Linked DNA regions of Homo sapiens: region 2 is linked to region 1. The links are contacts of gene promoters, found by promoter capture Hi-C in blood cells and fetal thymus (Javierre and others, 2016). All regions are on one chromosome and are shown on one strand. The core of a region is centred on a gene start or on the middle of the fragment in contact, and the rest is flanking DNA. Distances in the headings are between cores, read along the strand shown. Region 1 holds the start of HIRA (histone cell cycle regulator). Region 2 holds the start of LOC124905078 (a long non-coding RNA gene).

The links. The method cuts DNA at HindIII sites, captures the fragments that hold promoters and counts their contacts. A CHiCAGO score of 5 or more calls a contact.
Region 2: a fragment that was not itself captured here is called in contact with the fragment with the promoter of HIRA in region 1 in 2 of 17 cell types (naive CD4 T cells and naive CD8 T cells); the score reaches 7.0 in naive CD4 T cells.

The regions. Positions count from the first base shown.
Region 1 is chr22:19,429,226-19,433,372 of GRCh38, reverse strand. HIRA (histone cell cycle regulator) reads left to right here and starts at 1,640. Exons shown (of 25, transcript NM_003325.4): 1 at 1,640-1,933. The coding sequence starts at 1,897. It overlaps MRPL40 (mitochondrial ribosomal protein L40), which reads right to left and starts at 828. Exons shown (of 4, transcript NM_003776.4): 1 at 766-828; 2 at 25-108. The coding sequence starts at 818. RefSeq lists silencers at 754-1,063, 1,354-1,753 and enhancers at 2,038-2,785, 2,734-2,803, 3,044-3,173. The HindIII fragment of the contact is 6,181 bases long and covers 1-4,147 here.
Region 2 is chr22:19,096,244-19,100,250 of GRCh38, reverse strand. All of the region lies in intron 1 of DGCR2 (DiGeorge syndrome critical region gene 2), which reads left to right. It overlaps LOC124905078 (a long non-coding RNA gene), which reads left to right and starts at 67. Exons shown (of 2, transcript XR_007068002.1): 1 at 67-106; 2 at 1,085-4,007. The HindIII fragment of the contact is 925 bases long and covers 1,761-2,685 here.

The sequences.
Region 1 (4,147 bases), core at 391-2,890:
GTCAGGCCCTCGATTGAGTTTTACCTCATGGGAATGAGTTCCCAGAAAGACAACAATGACGCTCGCTGGTGAGTCTCTCTAAGCTGCGTCTGCCAAGTTCCCAGAAGCCTGAAAGATACAAGAGTATGTATAAATATCTGCTTCTCCAGGCTAGGCGCGGTTGCTCACGTCTGTAATCCCAGCACTTTGGGAGGCCGAGGCGGGTGGATCGCGAGGTCAGGAGTTCAAGACCAGCCTGGCCAACATGGTGAAACCCCGTCTCTACTAAAAATACAAAAATTAGCCGGGCGTGGTGTTGGGCGCCTGTAATCCGAGCTACTCGGGAGGCCGGGGCAGAACTGCTTGAACCCGGGAGGCAGAGGTTGCAGTGAGCCGAAATCGCGCCACTGCACTCCAGCCTGGGCGACAGAGCGAGACTCTGTCTCAAATAAATAAATAAATATCTGATTCTCTCCCACTTCACAGGAAAATAAAAAATTGCAATGCTCCCAAACCCGGGGCACTTCTAACTACTTGATATGACAGCAAGGTCAACGTGGAAGGTTTTTCAAAATCTTTCGTTCAGACCACAGAGGACTTAAGCAGGACCGCTGCTCGCCAGGGTGCTCAGATTTTCATGCATAAGAGTCACGACCAGATGGCTCATCCCTGAGATATTCGTGGACTGGGAGGCGAGCAGGGAGCACAGGCGAGTCCTGGCGGACAGTCGCGAAGACCCCGCACGCGCCCTGGGCACTCCGCTATCCGGCCAGCGTCCGCACTCACCCGCTAGTCGGGCGCAGGGCTAGCGAGATACTTCGCAGCACGGAGGCCGTCATGGCTACCCTCGCCGCTTCCGGGCGTGCGCCCCTCCACAGTCCGGCCCGCGGTGCCCCCTGCTGAGGTCCGGCAGACCAGGCGCCCAGCGCTCAGGCGTTCCGGCTGCGTGGGCTGGGACGCGCCTGTCCCCGCCCCCGACGCAGCCCCGCCTAGGGTGTCAGCTGCGCACACACGAGGGCCTTGCGTTTCACGCGGCTCGGGGTCCTCCCTTCCGTCCCCGCCCTGTGCTGGGAGCGCGCCTCTGCAGCGGGCACAGTCTAGCCAGTCAGGCCCTAGCCGGTTGGTCGGTCTGCGCCCTCGCGCGGGCCTCGGCTCCGCAGTGCAGCCGGAGCGGCCGAGGGGGCGTCCCTCTGCTCCTCCGAGTCCAAATGTTCATGTCTAGGCAAACGGCCCCGATCTTCTAATAAACGCGTCCGCCCCAGCCTCCCCCACCAGGGTTGGCTCGTCCCCCGCATTCGTTCGAGTCCGAAGCCCGGATCGCATTCCGGCGCCGGCGCGGAGCCCGGCGCTCGCAAGATGCCCAATAGCGCGTGTTGATGAATGACGGAAGCTAGTTAATAAGTCGGACTCAGACTGGCGAGGCAGAGCTGGTGACGGGCGGTCCACGCCACCTGGGCCCCGCCTGCCTCTGCGGGCGGCCCGGGTTGCAACTGCAGGCCCCGCTCGCTGTCCGCCGTCCAGGCGAACCGCCCTTTCTGGGGCGCCCGCGCCCGGGCCCGACCCGAAGCCCCTGCCAGCGGAGGAGCCGGGGCGGCCCAGTCCGCGTGGGGAGCGGTTTCCCGCCGGGGCGATTTGGCAGGTGCGCGCCGTGACTTCCGGCGTTGCCCGGGAGCCGCCTGAGGAGGAGCGGCGCAGGGGATGCGGCTGTGGTGGCGGCGGCGGCGGCCGAGCGCGGGTGGCGGCTGTGGCGGCGGAGGGGGGCGCGGGCCGGCGATGGCGCGGCGGCCCTGAGGGCGCGGGGCGGGCGGCGGCCGGAGGGCGGGTGGCGCGGGAGGAAGCGGCGGCGGTGGCTCCATGGCCCGGGCGCGCTGAGGGACCCGGCGCTCGCCTCAGCCCGGCGGCGGCGGCGGCCGAACAATGAAGCTCCTGAAGCCGACCTGGGTCAACCACAATGGTGAGTGCGCGCAGGGGTCGCGGGAGGCCGAGCCCGGAGTCGGGTCGGGGTCTGGAGTCGAGTCGGGGCGCGCGCAAGTCCTGCCTGTCTCGCCCCTGACGCCCGGTACCCGGTGCCCAAGCCAAGAAGCCGGCGGGAGCGGACTTTGTCCTCAGCGCGGAGAGGCTGGTGAGCCCCAGCACGTGCTCCGGGTTGACCGCAGCGAGGGCCATCTTCGCCCCTGGCTCTTGCTCTGAGTCTTCCGCTGCCCACCTGTGGTCCTTGGAGGGGCCGCGGCCTGGCTCCCAGGAGCGGGCCTTGGTGCCAGCCAGTGCCTTCCACTGGTCTGCATCGCCCGAGAAGTGCTCAGACGGTCCTGAAGGTGAAACCGGGATGAAATCCCCCTTGTGGCCTTTCAGTGGCAGGATGAAGATCCGAAATCTGCAAGAGGGACTGTTACTGCCCCTCTGGATCTGGGGACAGTGCCCCCAGTTGGGGAATTGTGGTCCCTAAATAGGAGGGTTTGGGGGCCCCGGGCCCCCGCGAAGGATCCACGATTAATGCTGAGCTGGGACATCAGGGTGAACTAGGGTTGGGCAGATAGGGCACAGGTGTGTTCTAGCAGAGGGGCTTCTTAGCTCTGTGGCAGTGGCTCCAAAGCACACCCTTGGGGAACGGACTCATCCACCCCATATCTTGACTCTGATACAGAGAGGCTAGTGGTAATCAGTTTCGTCATAGTTCTGCCTTGTTGGCAGAACTGCTGCAGGAGTTGGTGTTTGCTCCCCGGGTAGATGAAAAAAGCGCGCCTCCCCCTCCCCCACCCCACTCTGCTGACAGCACTGTAGCACAGAAATCAACCCAGGGAGACTCCTCCAGCCCAGGGCCTGATTCTGGCCTGTCTGACTGTTGACAGGCAAAGGGTCACCCTGATGCTGTCTTGTTCCTCATTTCTACTTTGCAGTGCGACTACAGGGTGCTACCGTTTTCTTTAGGAGCGAGAATAGATATTTTAACATGTGGCTTTTTCGTTTTGAATTTGGTCCCAGGATGCTCTCTACTACCACAACTAAACTGAACTGATCATGTGTGTGTTCTCCTCCTGCCACCTCTCTCTCCTTCCATCTTGTGTGACATCTTTCCCATTTTTCAGGGACTAGGTTCACGTGTTTCTTTTGAAACTGTTCATCCTGAGTTACCCCGGTAGATGTGCTGTATCACTGTCTGTGTGTTTTGCCTGGCATGGAAGGTGTGAGGGTACTTTCCATATGCCCCCAGGGTAGGGACTGCCTCAGTCCCTTCTGTATGCCCTACTGCATTGAACAACCTCTTCCACATGATGGGTATGTGATAAATATTGGCTAAAACAGGTAAGAAAGCTGAGGTTTTCATAATTTATCAAGATGAAGTTAGGTTTACTGTGCATGAAAGCCGAAGCCTTGAGTTTTAGTTTCATTTCTCCTGTTGATCTCCAAGAGCATTTCCTGATGTGTACTGTGCAGATCTTTCCCTGGAGAACTGGACAAATATTGTAATTATGAATTATGATGCTTGTGATTAGGAAAGGAAAAATGTTATTATGAACTAGTTTACTGTGTGAAGGTCTGATAGAATTTTTATTTTAAAATGCTTTACCTAAATCAGTTTTTGTGAATAGCCTACCCTTCTCCAGCCTCTCTTCTACTGTCATATAACTTGTTCCTTTTTGATAAGCTCCTTTGTAGGCCAAAAGTTTTATGCTATGTAAACATAAGTAAGTCAAGATGCTTAAGTGACGAACTAGGTACAAATGAATAAGAGACTACACTCAGATCAGCAGCCAAGTGCATCAGCCTGGCAGAGCAAGCACAACAGTGGCCCTTATTGCTGAGGGCCTCTCTACAGCCCTAGAATGGAGCATGATAATATCTACTCTAACCACTTCATAGTATGCTTGTGATACTCAGTTGGGAGCGTAGATATAAAAATGCTCCCCAAACTGTTAAGTGCTTTAGAAATCTGAGATAATAAGTAATAATAAAAAGAGGCTGGGCACGGTGGCACATGCCTGTAATCCCAGCACTTTGGGAGGCTGAGGCAGGTGGATCACGAGGTCAAGAGATCGAGACCATCCTGGCCAACATGGTGAAACCCCGTCTCTACTAAAAATACAAAAATTAGCTGGGCGTGGTGGTACGCACCTGTAGTCCCAACTACTCGGGAGGCTGAGACAGGAGAATCGCTTGAGCCCGGGAG
Region 2 (4,007 bases), core at 974-3,473, 330 kb after region 1:
GTTGTACAGGCTGGAGTGCAGTAGCGTGATCTTGGCTCACTGCAACCTCGCCTCCCCGGTTCAAGCGATTCTTGTGTCTCAGCCTTCCGAGTAGCTGGGATTACAGGTGTGTGCCACCACGTCCAGCTAATGTTTGTATTTTAGTAGGGACAGGGTTTCGCCTTGTCCAGGCTGGTCTCAAACTCCTAGCCTCAAGTGATCCTCCTACCTTGGCCTCCCAAAGTGCTGGGATTATAGGCATGAGCCACCATACTGGGTCAAGGGTGACTTTTTTTTTTTTAAAGACAGAATCTTGCTCTGTCGTCCAGGCTGGAGTGCAGTGGTACAATCTCGGCTCACTGCAACCTCTGCCTCCTGGGTTTAAGAAATTCTCTGCCTCAGCCTCCAGAGTAGCTGGGATTACAGACATGTGCCACCATGCCCAGCTAATTTTTTTGTATTTTTAGTAGAGTCAAGGTTTCACCATCTTGGCCAGGCTGGTCTTGAACTCCTGACCTTGTGATCCACGTGCCTTGGCCTCCCAAAGTGCTGGGATTACAGGCGTGAGCCACCACGCCTGGCCAAGGGTGACTGTTTTTAAGCAACTTTGTATGTGGCAGAAGTTGCACTTACTGCTTTACAGAGAGACTGTGGAGGATATTGAGAAAGGACAGGCAATTTTTTGTTGGTGGTGGTGTTTTGTTTTTTTGAGACAGGTTGGAGTACAGTGGTGTGATCGTGACTCACTGCAGTCTTGACTTCTCAGGCTGAGGTGATTCTCCCACCTCAGCCTCCTGAGTAGCTGGGACTACAGGCATGCACACCACCACATCTGGCTTATGTTTTGTATTTTTAGTAGAGCTGGGATTTCACCATGTTGGCCAGGCTGGTCTCGAACTCCTGGGCTTAAGTAATCTACCTGCCTTGGCCTCCCAAAGTGTTGGGGTAACAGGCGTGAGTCACCACGCGTAGTCAGTGGAAACGCAGTGTTGATGTCCAGCTAAAGCAATGCCAGTTTGACCTGTTGGAGTCACCATCTGGTGTGCTGTGCTGGATGCAAGCTCTGTCATGTCCTGGAATTGACTTTCTTTGTTCATTACCACAGCCCTGTCACCTGGAGAACTGCCTGGCACAGAGTAGGTGCCAGTGTTAATGAGTGATCCACATCTTCAGTTGCTTCCAGAATAGACCCGGCTTGACAGATGGATCAAGAAGGGAGAAAAACCTTCCCTATTGGAGAACTTCTGACACTTCATTGTCTGCTAGCAGAATATGGGAAGATTTTGAGCTGTGCAGTTCATTAGGCATTTAGTGCATGCCTCCATGTGTGGGGTGTTGGTGACATGGAGTATGGGGCAGCAATAAAGATGTGTCCCTCAGCCAGACACAGTGGCTCATGCCTGTAATCCCAAAACTTTGAGAGCATAAGGTGAGAAGATTGCTTGAGCTCAGGAGTTCGAGACCAGCCTGGGCAACATAGCAAGACCTTGTCTTTACTAAAAATAAAAAATAAAAAATTAGCTGAGTATGGTGGTATGTGCCTGTAGTCCCAGCTACTTGGGAGTCTGGGGCAAGAGGATCACTGGAGCCCAGGGTGTCTACGCTGCAGTAATCTGTGGTCATGCCGCTGCATTCCAGCCTGGGTGACAGAGCGAGACCCTGTCTCAAAAAACAAAACATTTACATGTATGTAAAATGTCCCTATATGTATACTCGAGAACAGGGTTTGGCAAACTATACCTGCAACTGGCCACTGTTTTTTTTTGTTTTTCGCTAAAGCTTTATTGGACATGCCTATGCCCACGCATTCCCATATTATCTGCAGCTGCTTTAGCTCCACGGCAGCAGGGTTGAGCAGCTGTGGCAGAGAGAGGGTGGCCTGTGAAGCTGGCCACCTGGAAATACTTATCATCTGGCCCTTGAAGGAAAAGTGTGCTGACCCTACTCAGGGTGTGAAGAAAAGAACAGAGAAGGGCTGCTTAGGAAAACAGGGCTAGGCCAAGAAGGCCGACTCAGTTAGGGGAGTTTGGGGAGGGGTTCCTGGAGAGTGGTGTGTCTTGAGACCTGGGGAGAGGGGATGCCATGGACTAAGGCCCAGCAGTGGGGAGCCCAGCTGTGTTCAGGATGTAGCAAGACAGTCATTCTGCTGATAGCTTATTTTTCCTCTTTTGATAACTATTTTTTTTTTAAAAGTCTGGAGAAAGAAAGAAAAGGACAGAAAATCCGTGTGGGGGCTATTTTAGCCAGAGCTGTCTGGTTGTAAGGAGTAGCTGTAGGAGGAACTTTTCCCTGAGCCCAGGGAGGAAGCACAGCCATCCTTGGGGTCATGGGACTGTGAAGGGTGTTGCTCCCCTTTCTCAGCCCTTCTGGTCTTAGCCCTTACCTCTTTCTGCCTCAGGGTGCACAGAACTTCAAGTGACTGTCTCAGTCTGGCTAGCCTGGATCTTCCCACTCCCATCACCTTACAGACTCTTCTCATTGGCCCAGCCTGGGGCAGGGCAGGTGGCACTCATGGAGTGGCCAGATGGGCACTTCTCAAAGAGGAAGGCTGTTTGGGCCTTTGGAGCCTTTCCCAGACATGCATAGAGTATGGAGAGAAGAAGTATTCTTCAAGTGTGTTTGAGTTATGGACACTAAGTGTGGTCGGCTATGCCCTGGGAACACAGGAGTGAACAGTGCAGACATGACCTGTGCCCTCAGGAAGCTTTACTTTTTTTTTCGAGACAGAGCCTTGCTCTGTCGCCCAGGCTGGAGTGCAGTGGTGCAATCTCAGCTTACTGCAGCTTCCGCCTCCCGGATTCGAGCAGTTCTCTGCCTCAGCCTCCAGAGTAGCTGGGATTACAGGCACCCGCACCACACCTGGCTAATTTTTGTGTTTTTAGTAGAGACGAGGTTTCAACATCTTGGCCAGGCTGGTCTTGAACTCCTGACCTTGTGATCCACCCGCCTCGGCTTCCCAAAGTGCTGGGATTACAGGCGTGAGCCACTGCACCTGGCTGTTTCACTTACATATCTATATATGTATATATATATATAGGTTTACTATATACTGATATATAGGAAGCCAGGAGTGACAAGTACTACTTAGAAGCAGCCAAGGCAAGGCAAGGTGGATGTGGTGCATGGGGGAAGGGGCCTTGTTTGCCAGAGAAGACTTGGCTGACGTTTGCTTTTGGAGGATATAGGGGTATGGAGAAAGAAAACCCCCAGTGTTGTTACTTATTACTTCTTACTCAACTATTTCCAAAAATAATTTAAGGTAGTGCATTGAAGTTTTTCTGGGCCTAGGGTATGATATGTTAGGGCGTAGATTTGGAGGGCTGTGACATGAGCTATGAATTTACTTTGAACAACACCATAGGGTGTTTTTTTTTTTTGTTTTTTTTTTTAATAGAATGGACACTGTTAAAATATTCTGCTGGGCGGGGTAGCTCAGGCCTGTAGTCTGAGGTGGGAGAGTCATTTGACTTTGAGGCACCATGATTGTGCCTGTGAATAGCCACCACTGCACTCTGGCCTGGGCAACATAGTAAGACCCCATCTCTAAAAAATAAAAAAGAATGTTCTGTTGCTAAATCTCTATTCAGTGAATGAACTCTTTCTCAGTATAGTTTGGGAAATTAGAAGGCTTTTTTTTTCCTTTTTCCTGCATTAGTCTTTAAAAAAATTTTTTGTTAACTTTATGGACACAGTAGTTACATGTGTGGGGTATATATGATATTTTGATACAAGCATAGAATGTGTAATGATCAAATCATGGTAATTGGGGTATCTGTCACTTCAAGCATTTGTAACTTTTCTTGTGTTAGGAACATTCTGATTCTACTCATTTAGTTATTTTGAAGTATAGAATAAACCATTATTAACTATAGTTAACTGTGTTTTTGTACCTATTAACCAACCTCTTTTTCTCACCTCTGCCTTTCCCAGCCTCTGGTAACCACTACTCCACTCTCTAGCTCCATGAGTTTAACTTTTTTTAAGCTCCCACATATGAATGAGAACATGTGAAGTTTGTCTTTCTGTGC